Regions from separate parts of the Homo sapiens genome. Here regions 1 and 2 are each linked to region 3. Evidence: promoter capture Hi-C in 16 types of primary human blood cells and fetal thymus (Javierre and others, 2016). All regions are on one chromosome and are shown on one strand. The core of a region is centred on a gene start or on the middle of the fragment in contact, and the rest is flanking DNA. Distances in the headings are between cores, read along the strand shown.

Evidence for each region. The method cuts DNA at HindIII sites, captures the fragments that hold promoters and counts their contacts. A CHiCAGO score of 5 or more calls a contact.
Region 1: a fragment that was not itself captured here is called in contact with the fragment with the promoter of HPS5 in region 3 in 13 of 17 cell types (neutrophils, naive CD4 T cells, total B cells and 10 more); the score reaches 9.6 in neutrophils.
Region 2: a fragment that was not itself captured here is called in contact with the fragment with the promoter of HPS5 in region 3 in 1 of 17 cell types (total CD4 T cells); the score reaches 5.4 in total CD4 T cells.

The regions. Positions count from the first base shown.
Region 1 is chr11:18,616,715-18,620,500 of GRCh38, reverse strand. SPTY2D1 (SPT2 chromatin protein domain containing 1) reads left to right here. Exons shown (of 6, transcript NM_194285.3): 2 at 3,512-3,626. Among named protein-coding and RNA genes, the nearest start is that of SPTY2D1, 16 kb to the left of the region's middle. RefSeq lists an enhancer at 3,689-3,786. The HindIII fragment of the contact is 1,760 bases long and covers 403-2,162 here.
Region 2 is chr11:18,673,351-18,677,487 of GRCh38, reverse strand. No RefSeq gene overlaps it. Among named protein-coding and RNA genes, the nearest start is that of TMEM86A, 23 kb to the left of the region's middle. The HindIII fragment of the contact is 2,972 bases long and covers 395-3,366 here.
Region 3 is chr11:18,320,417-18,324,586 of GRCh38, reverse strand. It overlaps HPS5 (HPS5 biogenesis of lysosomal organelles complex 2 subunit 2), which reads left to right and starts at 2,447. Exons shown (of 23, transcript NM_181507.2): 1 at 2,447-2,641. GTF2H1 (general transcription factor IIH subunit 1) reads right to left here and starts at 2,020. Exons shown (of 15, transcript NM_005316.4): 1 at 1,847-2,020. RefSeq lists enhancers at 2,043-2,462, 2,473-2,772, 1,663-2,862, 2,000-2,949. The HindIII fragment of the contact is 9,902 bases long and covers 1-4,170 here.

The DNA.
Region 1 (3,786 bases), core at 33-2,532, 300 kb before region 3:
ATGTTTTTGTTTTTGTTTTTTTGAGACCGAGTCTCACTCTGTTGCCCAGGCTGGAATGCAGTGGCGTGATCTTGGCTCACTACAACCTCTGCCTCCTGGGTTCAAGTGATTCTCGTGCTTCAGCCTCCCAACTGGCTGGGACTACAGGCGTGAGCCACCATGCCTGGGTAATTTTTGTACTTTTAGTGGAGACAGGGTTTCACCAGAGTTCGAGGCCAGGCTGGTCTCGAACCCCTGACCTCAAGTGATCTGCCCGCCTTGTCCTCCCAAAGTGCTGGGATTACAGGCGTGAACCACCGCACCTGGCCAACTCTGTATGTTTTTTTAAATTAGTAAGTAATGGTAGGGGTAGTATACCACAAAGGCAAAAATCATAAAGGTAGTATGCAAATGACTGAAGCTTACTGAACACTGCATTAAACTATGCCCCATTGACACTGATGTTTTCCCTTTTGGATACCAGTATTCAGTCAAGAGCAGCTTTTCGGTTTGTCATATCCCACTTTCTATCTCTTGCAGTCCCAGGTTAAGATGAAAGATATCTATCCCAAAATCATGTTAGATAGTGCTCAATGCTGGGTTATTTGGACAGCAAACCAGTCCTGTTTAAAATAAGTAATGCTAATATATGTATTTGCATTTTTCTTGGGGAAAACCTTGCATGGGGCTTTGATTTGTATGGGGCTTTGTAACTCTATGAGCTATATAATGGACAGGGACAGGAAATTTTTGTTTTTTGTTTATTGAGACGGAGTCTTGCTCTGTCACCAGGCTGGAGTGCAGTGGCGCAATTTTGGCTCACTGCAGCCTCCGACTCCCTGGTTCAAGCAATTCTCTTGCCTCATCCTCCCAAGTAGCTGGGCTTACAGGCAGGCACCACCACGCCCAGCTAATTTTTGTATTTTTAGTAGAGATGCAGTTTTACCATGTTGGCCAGGATGGTCTCGATCTCCTGACCTTGTGATCCGCCTGCCTCAGCCTCCCAAAGTTCTGGGATTACAGGTGTAAGTCACTGCACCCAGCCTTTTTTTTTTTTTTTTTTTTAAAGAGATGAGTTCTCACCATGTTGTCCAGGCTGGCGTCTTAACTCCTGGGCTCAAGCTGTCCTCCCGCCTCAGCCTCCTAAAGTGCTAGGATTACAGGCTTGAGCCACTGCGCCTGGCCAGGAAAATCTTAAGTGTTAGTGAAAAAAAATCCACCTTCTTCTGCTTCCAAATCCCTTAATGGGATGGAGTGGAGTGAGTGTGTGCCTCTGCTTATGAGTTTTTTGTATGTCTTCATTTGAATCATATTCATGGTGCCCTTTCCACAATGAAAATGTAAGCTCCTTGTGATTAATACCTATGTTTGTGGTTCTTTTCTTGTAAACAAGGGCAATTTTATATATATCTAGTTAGGTTAGCAGTATTACTTCTCCTTTCTCCTCTCCCTTTCTTTCTCCCTTTTCTCCTTTAAATATTGAGCCCCTATCCACTATGGAAAGAGTCTAAAATTAAATTTACAAAGATATGGACTTTAAAGGATCTCACTATGGCCTAGCCAAGGTGACTGGGAAAGAAATCTGGATGCTGTCTTGGGACTTCTCTCTATTAGGGATATGTCACTTCTCAGCATTGCTATCATGCAAGATTTTCAGGTTGAATTAGAGCCTGCTTCCTTGGCCAGCTGCTTTGTTGGCAGACTAATTTAGTTGAAACTTCCAGCCTGTTTCAAGATACGTCGTATTTGGCAGCCTTATAGTAAGCACATATCTTTTGGTTTTCCTCCAAGAATTTCATACATATTTGGGAATACTTTTTTGGTTCCTAAGTTGTTCCTAAGTTGTCTCAATTTGTTCTTGGACATGTTTCTTTTTCTGCTAGCCACAGCAACAGGTACGTTAGATGAGAATGCATCTGCCTAACAAAACAAAAAAAGGAGGATACTTTAAAAATCTTATTTCCTGGATTTAATGTGGAATGGTCGTAGAGGTGAATCATCCCTGGTCTGAATTTATTTTAGCTCTATGTTCGTCATATTTCTCTCATAATAGGTACTTATAAAGTGGAAATATTTTTCCTTTTATAGTTCAAATTAACATTACTTGAGTTTAGTAATTTCTTGATGCAGTTATATAAAAACTGAGGTCCAGAGACTTCATCTGTGCCAGGATAATGTAAGCTTTTTTTGGGTGTTATAGGAACCTGTCTAAAAAGGAGGTTGTGAGGCAAATTAACATTTAGTGAACATAAGAGCTACAGTTAAAGGTTGCTGGGAATTGGGCCTTTATTGCATAGATTTTTTGAAATGCTTTTTTGCTGTGGTTTGCCCCAGCCTTTGTGTGTGGTCAAAGTAAAACCTCAGTGTTTCCGTGTTCTAAGCAAAATAAAACATGTAGCTATGAGTCTCTACTAGGAAATCATCTGGAGTAGTCAGGAGAGAAAATAGTTGTGAGGAGTAGTTTTTTCTGTTCGTTTGAAAAGTTGGACTTTGAAATGCTTCTTTCTAAGGCAGGCTATTTTTAAACTCAGAATTTTATACATTTACTTACTTACTTACTTACTTATAGATTGATGGATTGAGACGGAGTTTTGCTCTGTTGTCCAGCCTGGAGTGCAGTGGCGCAATCTCGGCTCACTGCAACCTCTGCCTCCTGGGTTCAAGCCATTCTCCTGCCTCAGCCTCCTAAGCAGCTGGGATTACGGATGTGCGCCACCATGCCCGGCTAATTTTTGTATTTTTAGTAGAGACGGAGTTTCACTATGTTGGCCAGGCTGGTTGCTAACTCCTGACCACAGGTAATCCTCCCACCTCAGCCGCCCAAAGTGTTGGGATTATAGGCGTGAGCCACCGCACCTGGCCTAAATCAGATTTTTTTTTTTTTTTTTTTTTTTTTGAGACGGAGTCTTACTTTGTCGCCCGGGCTACAGTGCAGTGGCACAATCTCGGCTCACTGCAACCTCTGCCTCCCGGGTTCAAGCAATTCTTCTGCCTCAGCCTCCTGAGTAGCTGGGATTACAGGCACCCGCCACTACGCCCAGCTAATTTTTTGTGTTTTTAGTAGGAATGGGGTTTCACCATGTTGGCCAGGCTGATCTCGAACTCCAGATCTCATGATTCGCCCGCCTCCGCCTCCCAAAGTGCTGAGATTACAGGCATGAGACCCTGAGCCCAGCCTAAATCAGAATTTTAAAACACAAATAATCGATTCTTCTAAGTGGTGATTTCATTTAGTTACCCAGTCCAGGTTCTTTTTTGGAAAATAGCCTGAAAACAGTGTTTCTGTGAATTGTTCATTTATGCATTATTTTGGGATGTTACATGGAAACTTTGTACCCCAAAATCACCATACGTAATAAATAGTCTGAAATTTTATAGCTAAGCTTTATTATGGGTTATATGATCTCTCAATTATTCAGAATAGGTTTCACAGTTAACATTTATACCTCTTATTACCTGGCACAGTGCCTTATACCTAATAATGTATTTTAAAAGTTGAATTGCTTCTAACTTTTACTGTTTTTGTTTTTAGAAAAGGTATAGTTTGGCAGTGGGGCCTCCAAAAAAAGACCCAAAAGTTAAAGGTGTCCAATCAGCAGCTGTACAAGCTTTTCTTAAAAGGAAAGAAGAGGAGCTGAGACGAAAAGGTATGTATCTATAGCCTTATTCTCAATTTTAAAGTATTCCATCTTCACCATCTAGCTTGTACTAAACCAGTGGCTGTCTATAAAAACATAACAGGCCAACAGATTTGGGAGGGTGTGTGTGTGTGTGTGTGTGTGTGTGTGTCCAGGTTAACTGACTGTA
Region 2 (4,137 bases), core at 631-3,130, 350 kb before region 3:
AGGCCAGGGCGGGCGGATCATGAGGTCAGGAGATCGAGACCATCCTGACCAACATGGTGAAACCCCATCTCTACTAAATATACAAAAATTAGCTGGGTGTGGTGGCATGTGCCTGTAATCCCAGCTACTCAGGAGGCTGAGGCGGGAGAATTGCTTGAACCTGGGAGGCGGAGGTTGCAGTGAGCCAAGATTGCGCCACCACACACCAGCCTGGTGATATAGCGAGACTCTGTCTCAAAAAAAAAAAAAAAAATTGTGCTTTCCTTCCTTTGAGGAAACTTAAACTCAGAGTGGGCCTTTAACTGCCTAGAATGACTTAGGGATGGCCTTTTCTGAAAATAAGTGGGTTTCTCAACGTTCACAAACTGGAATGCATCAGAATCATTGGGAAGCTTGTTAGACATATACATGACCAAACTTCACCTAACAAGTTCTGATGCCAGGGCTTTAGGGTGAGGCCCTGACATCCGTATTTTAACAAGCTCTTGAAGTGATTCATATGCACACCAAAGTCTGAACCTCTGTGCTAATAACTCATTGATTGAGCCATTCATCGAATAAGCATGTGCTAGGTGCTGGGCAGAGGCAAAGAAAACTATATATATATATATATACTTTAAGACAGAGTCTCACTCTGTCTTCCAGACTGGAGTGTCGTGGTGCAATCTCAGCTCACTGCAACCTCTGCCTCCCAGGTTCAAGCAATTCTCCTGCCTCAGCCTCCCGAATAGCTGGGACTACAGGCACGTGCCACCACGCCCAACTAATTTTTTTATTTTTAGTAGAAACGGGGGTTTCACCATGTTGGCCAGACTGGCCTCAAAGTCCTGACCTCAAGTGGTCCACTTGCCTTGGCCTCCCAAAATGCTGGGATTACAGGCGTGAGCTAGCGCGCCCAGCCAAGAAAACAATTTATTTTTTGATATGCCAATGCCTACCACAGGGCCTTGCACATGTGAGCATTTATTTAAAAGTTAACACATAACAGTCTTTAAGGAGGTGCATCTTTATGTGGGAGACAGACATAAGAATCAATAAATCCGTAAATAGATTGAGTACCAAGAAAGGCTAATGCTGCCTTCAGAGAGAGATATCTGAGAAGGCTTCCTAGGGAAGGGATATCTGATAGCTTAAAAGATAGGCAAGGTTGGGGCTGGGCACGGTGGTTCACACCTGTAATCCCAGCACTTTGGGAGGCCGAGGCGGGCAGATGACGAGGTCAGGAGTTCGAGACCAGCCTGGCCAACATGGCAAAACCCTGTCTCTACTAAAAATGCAAAAATCAGCTGGGCATGGTGGTGGGCACCTGTAATCCCAGCTACTCCAGAGGCTGAGGCAGGAGAGTCGCTTGAAACCAGAAGGTGGAGGTTGCAGTGAGCCAAGATCACACCACTGCACTCCAGCCTGGGCCAAAGAGCAAAACTCCATCTCAAAAAAAAAAAAAAAGAAAAAAAAAAAGGCAGGGTTTACCAGCCAGAATATCACATGTGTGCAAAGATGCAGAGGAGTGACAGAAAATGACTAGGTGTGTCTGGAGCTTAGGGTACCAGGGAGAATGGTGGGCAAGGAAGCAGGAAGAGGTGTGTGTTTGAGGACCAGATTGTGGTGGGCCTGCTCTGCTAGAGTTTCAACTTTGCGATGAAGTTCATGGGAGCCATGAAGATTTTCAGATAGGAGGTGAATTATCAGATTTTCATTGTAGAAAGATCATTCCAGCAGCAACCAATGTGGAGAATGGGAGGGCATAGTCAGTACTGGAGGTAAGGAGAGCAATTAGGAAGCTGTTGCAATAGTCCACAAAAAGAATGCAGAAGATCTGAACTGGAGTAGTGACAGTGGAGTGTGGAGGGGAGGCATGAAGACCCATTCAAAAGATTTTTAAGCAGTTCCTTCCAGTATCATGATTCTATCATTGCAGTATGGCCCTTTTCAAAACTTAGGGGAAATATTTTTTGCCTTACAGGCTATTATAAAGAACTTTTATGGTTATGAAAGTAACATAGGCTGGGCGTGGTGGCTCACGCCTGTAATCTCAGCACTTTGGGAGGCCAAGGTGGGTGGATTACCTGAGGTCAGGAGTTTGAGACCAGCCTGGACAACATGGTGAAACCCCATCTCTACCAAAACTACAATAAATAAATAAATAAATGAAATAGCCAGGTGTGGTGGCGGGCACCTGTAATCCCAGCTACTTGGGAGGCTGATGTAGGAGAAGCACTTGAACCTGGGAGGCAGATGTTGCAGTGAGCCGAGACTGCGCCATTGCATCCCAGCCTGGGCAACAAGAGGGAAACTCCACCTCAAAAAAAAAAAAAAGTAATGTATATACAGATTATGAGAACTTTAGAAAGCATAATAAAGCATAAAGAATATAATATAAATCACTGGCCGAGCACAGTGGGTCAGCCTTTAATTTTTATTTCATGCATTTTTCTTGACCCTTGACACTTTCTATCTATACAAAGGCCTAATGTATTGCAGTAAGTTAGGTAATAGTTAAAATTAATATATCAGTGTTTCATAAAGTACACAAGCAATAGGACAACTGAGGCTGTTGGGAAATATCTGGGGAAGAAGGTTGCAGATGGCAAGATTTGTTTGGACATGGCAACCAAGCTACCTAAGCCGTGACCTTAGAAAGTGGTATGAGAGGCTGGGCACGGTGGCTCACCCCTGTAATCCCAACACTTTGGGAGGCCGAGGTGGGTGGATCACCTGAGGTCGGGAGTTCAAGACCAGCCTGGCCAACATGGTGAAACCCCGTCTCTACTAAAAATACAAAAATTAGCCAGGCATGGTGTCACGCGCTTGTAATCCCAGCTGAGGCAGGAGAATCGCTTGAACCCAGGAGGCGGAGGTTGCAGTGAGCCGAGATCAAGCCACTGCACTCCAGCCTGGGCCACAGAGCAAGACTCCATCTCAAAAAAAAAAAAAAAAAATAGTGCTTGCATGTGACCAGAGGGGAAGAGTCAGCTCTTTTGATGGTCACATTGTCCTTGCTGCCTTAGGCTGAGGTTGCAGTTAATTAAATTCCAAAATATTTTCTTCCATCCTGTACTTCACAGTTTTCTGGATCTAAATTCAGGACTTGATATTTTTCCTATCGTGTTTCATCTGCTATCTTCCTGACCAGGGAGAGATTTGTGGATCCAGATGATTCTGGCAATAAATTCCACAGGTCCTGTCAATCCCCTCTGCTAGGGACTGAATTGTGATCCCCCAAAATTTATATGTGGAAGCCTTAATGCCCAATGTGCTGGTATTTGGAGATGGGGCCTACGGGAGGAGGTTAGGATTAGATGAGGTTATGAGTGTGGGGTGCTCATGTTGGATTAGTGCCCTTATAATAAGAGACACCAGAAAGCTTCTTTTGATTTCTCACTCCCCTGACCCCAAACCATGTGAGGAAGAAAGCCCTCACCAGAATTCAACTATGCTGACACCGCGATCTTGGACTTCCAGCCTCCAGAACAGTGAGAAAATAATGTCTGTTTTTTAAGCCATCCAGTGTATAATACAGTTGACCCTTGAGCAACGCAAGGGTGAGGGGAACCAACCCACCATATAGTCAAAAATCCACATATAATTCTTGACTCCCCCAAAACATAACTACTAGCCTACTGTTGGCCAGAAGCCCTACCGATAACATAAACAGTAAGTTAACACATCTTCTGTATGTTATATGTATTATATACTTTATTCTTACAAAGTAAGCTAGAATAAAGAAAATGTTATTAAGAAAATCATAAGGAAGGTAAAATATATATACTATTCATTAAGTGGAAGAGGGTCACCATAAAGGCCTTCATTCTCATCATTCTCACAGTGAGTAGGCTGAGGAGGTAGGGGAAGAGGAGCAGTTGGTGTTGTTGTCTCAAGGATGACAAAGCTAAAGGAGGTGAAAGGGGAAACAAGAGAGGCAGGCACACTTGGTGAAACTTTATGAAAATACGTTGTAATTTGTCTTTTTTGCTTTTTCATTTCTCTAAATTTTTTGTCTATACAATACCAATCCTTCTCCAACCATATGCTTTAGTTTCAGTCTCTGTATCACAGAAAGGTCCATGTCGTAAAAGAAGTCAAAAGCGGCCGGGCGCAGTGGCTCACGCCTGTAATCCCAGCACTTTGGGAGGCTGA
Region 3 (4,170 bases), core at 1,198-3,697:
CATTCTGATGGTAGGGAATAAAATAGCACAGAGAAGCAGGTTATCAGAGGGCAGGACACATGGTACCAGCAGGGAGAAGTTACAAGCCTTGAGGGCAGTACACACAGGAAGCATTCACAACCCAGGACTGGTGCTGGTCGCTGGCTTCACTACTTTTAACTGATTCTTCTCCCACACTGCACCAAGTTTCCTAGTATTTTTCAAAAGCCCTCTCTGAATTTGCTTTGATTTTTTTTCACATTTGTACTGCAATGTGTATTTTATATCACCTAAGAGAGACTCAAACTTACCAATCTGTTGCACTGCTACAAGTCGGCTGAATGGCCTGGTCAACATGGTGAAACCCCGTCTCTACCAAAAATACAAAAATTAGCCAGGCATGGTGGCGTGCGCCTGTGATCCCAGCCGCTGGGGAGGCTGAGGCAGGAGAAGCCCTTGAACCCGGTAGATGGAGGTTGCAGTGAGCAGAGATCGCGCCATTGCACTCCAGCCTGGGCAACAAGAGCAAAACTCCGTCTCAAAAAAAAAAAAAAATGTCGGCTGAGTGAGGATAGCAGACCATCTCTTTTTTCTCCTTTCTGAATGAGGGACTTAAGCCTGCTAACAGGTACAAAGTTCTCTCCAGAGTTTAGTCCTTCTCTAAGTCCAAGGCCTGCTACTAGAGGTTACCTTCCCTGCGGTTGTGACCTCTCCATCTCAACTGCTCTGGTTTTGTCTTTTAAAAAATCTTAAGGTTGGCAACTTTGGCTTAATTACCTAAGTCCAGTTCAGTGGTTTTCAAACTGTGTTCCAAGGAGTGGCCTCTAGGATAGAAGTTAAGTGGGGTGGTGGGGCCTGGCCCTTTTAAATTTAGTTCCACCAGAGCATGCTGCTTTATATATTGGGTTCCAGATAAAAATTCATGGGGAGAAATTGTTCCACTCCTTTAAAATGTTTGAAAATCACAAGTCTGGATATTGGTTTGTATGGAGTCAATACTCACTGCAAAGCACATTTCATTCAAACCACTCAGTTTTTTTTTTGTTTTTGTTTTTAAGACTGGGTCTTCAAATGGACAAAGGGTGTATTTTTCATATCTTCTTTCCCCATCCCCATTTTACTGATGCTAAAATTGGAGTTTAGGAGTCATTTGGGGCCAGGCACTGTAGCATAATTCTGGCGCTTTGGGAGGTCTAGGCAGGAGAATCGCTTGAGCCCAGGAATTCGAGGTTACAGTGAGCTATTATCACGCCACTGCATTCCAGCCAGGACGACAGAACAAGACTCTGTCTCTTAAAAAAAAATAAGAAAAGTCACCTCCTTATTTAATTTGGCCTTTGAGAACACTGGGGGATTTACAAAATAATTACATATATCCAGGTACTCATGGTCTATTTTTCATCATTACACGACAATCAAATGACCAAAACTAGGAGTGTGTGGACTGGCACGTGTTAAGGTTTTTAAGAGAGGTAAGATTGACAGGTGGAAGCAAAAGGTGTGCAGACAACAAGGTGACAGCTTTTCTCTTACAGAATCCCAGACTCAACAGCACATTTCCTGACGGGAAGGGCTTCTCTGTCTGGGAGAGGCCTCCACTTCATTCTCATAAGCCAAATCTGATCCTGGCTTTGGGTAAACCTGCTCTCAATTTAAGAGCAGGTTTCCTTTAGACAAGTAGATTAGGGGTCGCCTCTTCCTCGCCTCGGGATAAGGGCAAACAAGACGCCAGGCTTGGGCGTTGGGAGGACGGCGACAGCGACGCTGGGAACAGGGGTAGAATCCACGCCGTCCAGCGGCCCCCAGGCCTGTCAGCTCCTCACCCGCCCACCCACCCGCCCGCCTGCATTCTTCGGTCTAAACTTACCAGGTGGAAGCTACAACTCTAGACAGGAAGTAACTAACTGGGTTGGATCCGGTCGAGTTCCGCTGCGCTTCTTAGAGCCGCTGCTGGGAAGAGGCCGAAACCCAGTGGCCGCAGCAGTAGCCACCGCCTCTGTTACTAGGGGGTCTCGCCTCCATCGCTGGCTGCGAGGAGTCTGAGGGCACGTGACCGGAAGTAGCAAGGCGGGCCCTGGGCACGTGACTCAAGAGCGCGGCCGCCATGACACCTTCCGCTAGTTCCCTCCCTCCCCCACGGGTTCCCGCCTGTTTCGTTTCCTCTCTCCGGTCTCGAGCGGCGAAGGGTCCTGGGATCCTGGCTGGCCCAACCATTTGGCCTAGAGCTCCTCCGGTTCCAGTCGGCGCCGTGTCTCCAGCCCGCAACGGCCCTGCGGTCGCAGGCCGTAGAGAGCGTAATCGCGACCGCGGCCTGAGGGGGAGGGACCACGCGGAAGGAGGGGCGTGACTCGTCACGTGATGAGGAAGTGCCGTTAGTAGCGTTGTTTCCAGTCTGCGGCTCTCCTGGATGACGTCAGCAAGGAAGGGGAGGAACGCGAGGGGAGACTGAAGTTCACGTTCCGCTCTTAGTGCGCGGTGAGTTCCCCGGCGCTAAGCCGGGAGACAAGATCCGATCTACTGAGAGCTGCGAGGTACTGCCCTGGATGTGGTGGAGCTGGGCTGGGACCTCCGGGCTGCTGGTCTGTGAGCCTGGCTTTGAAAATTGGTTACTGGGTCTCCTCTCAAGAAATCTCAAGATATTAAAGTTACTGCTGTTAAAAAGGTAGTAGTTCCACTAGGCAAGGAGCTTTTTGTGGGTAGGGATTGTGTTTTGTTCATCCCTGTGTCTCTAGCGGTGTGTTCAGGTCCTGGAACATAGTAGGCACTCAGAATGTTGAATGAATGAATGTATAAATGAGTCAGTCGCCATTTGTCTGAGGCAGAGAGTTGTTTTCTGATCATTTCTTCTTGGATAGAAAGATCCCATTGTGAAAATGAGGCAGTCTGCAACTTCCCCTTCTCATTTCTTCAATTTTTGCTATCTTTCTTACTTCTTTCTCCTCTTCCTCCACGCACCTACTGGGGCAAAAGAGAAACATGTTTGCATTTGATGTGTGAGCAACAAACACTGAACTATTTTACGATAATGGAAAGATGAGATTTGGATTCAGGAGACGCGTATTCTAATCTCAGCTCTACCATTTATGAACTCTGTGATCCTTGGGCAAGCCAGTCTCCCAAAAGTTGTTTCATTTACTTTGGTTAAGCATTTGTCGCCAACTTCTATGTTCTTAGTTTTTGGTAGAGTGCCTTCACAGAAGTAACATTTAAACTCAGCTTTGCAGAAAGGTAGGGTTTTGGTAAATGGGGGAAGATTCCATAAACATCATATATTAAACCATGGAGGCACAGCAAGTTTATGGAATGAAAAAGAAAAAAAGAGTCGAGTCCAATGTAGTTGGAGAATAGAGAGGTTAAGATGGGAAATAAGGCTGGAAAAAGAAGCAGGGAGGAGATAACAGATTTTCAAGAAATAGAGCTGTTGAAGGCTTGTACAATATTATGTATATATTTTTTAAATTTTATTGTGGAAAATTTCAAACGCAGACAAAAGTAGGATAATAAATTGAACCCTCATGTACACTTAACGCAACTTGAACAATTATCAGCATTCTGCTGTTCCTCTTTATACTGTTTGTACATTTCTAGGTACTTTTTATATCCATTGTTGCATTTGATTAATAGCAGCTTTCAATTTGAGCTCAGTTCTACTGTATGTAGCTACTGGCTAAGAAGATTTTATTTATGTAAACAATTTCTTTGGGTTTTAGTTGACCACTTGCTCTGTTGAATCAATGTGTAACATGGCCACTTAAACACAACTAATACTGTTTTTAGGTTGTAATATAGAAACTTAGTGTCTAGATCCAGGAAGTTAGTGTTTCTACTCTATTCTGGGCTCATCTAACTACTTAAGGAGTATTATGCTCAGTTCTAGGCACCTCATTTTTAGGCAAACTACAGTGCCTCTGTAGAAGGTTGACTGGAACAGAGGGTTGGAAAATGTCATGTCAGGAGTGATGAAGAAACTGGGAATGTTAAATTTTTAGAAGACCTGATAATGCTTTTCAAATACAGAAGGATTGTTTTGGAAAGAGACAGCTTGTTCCCTTCAGCTGTAGAAGCTACATACAATTAGGAATAATGGTAGAGCTCTAAGTGATCAGGCTTCAGCATAGTATTAAAAAGAACCTTATAATAGTGAGCCCTTTGGAGGACTGGAATTGGCAGCTTCATGAGAGTGAGTGCTTT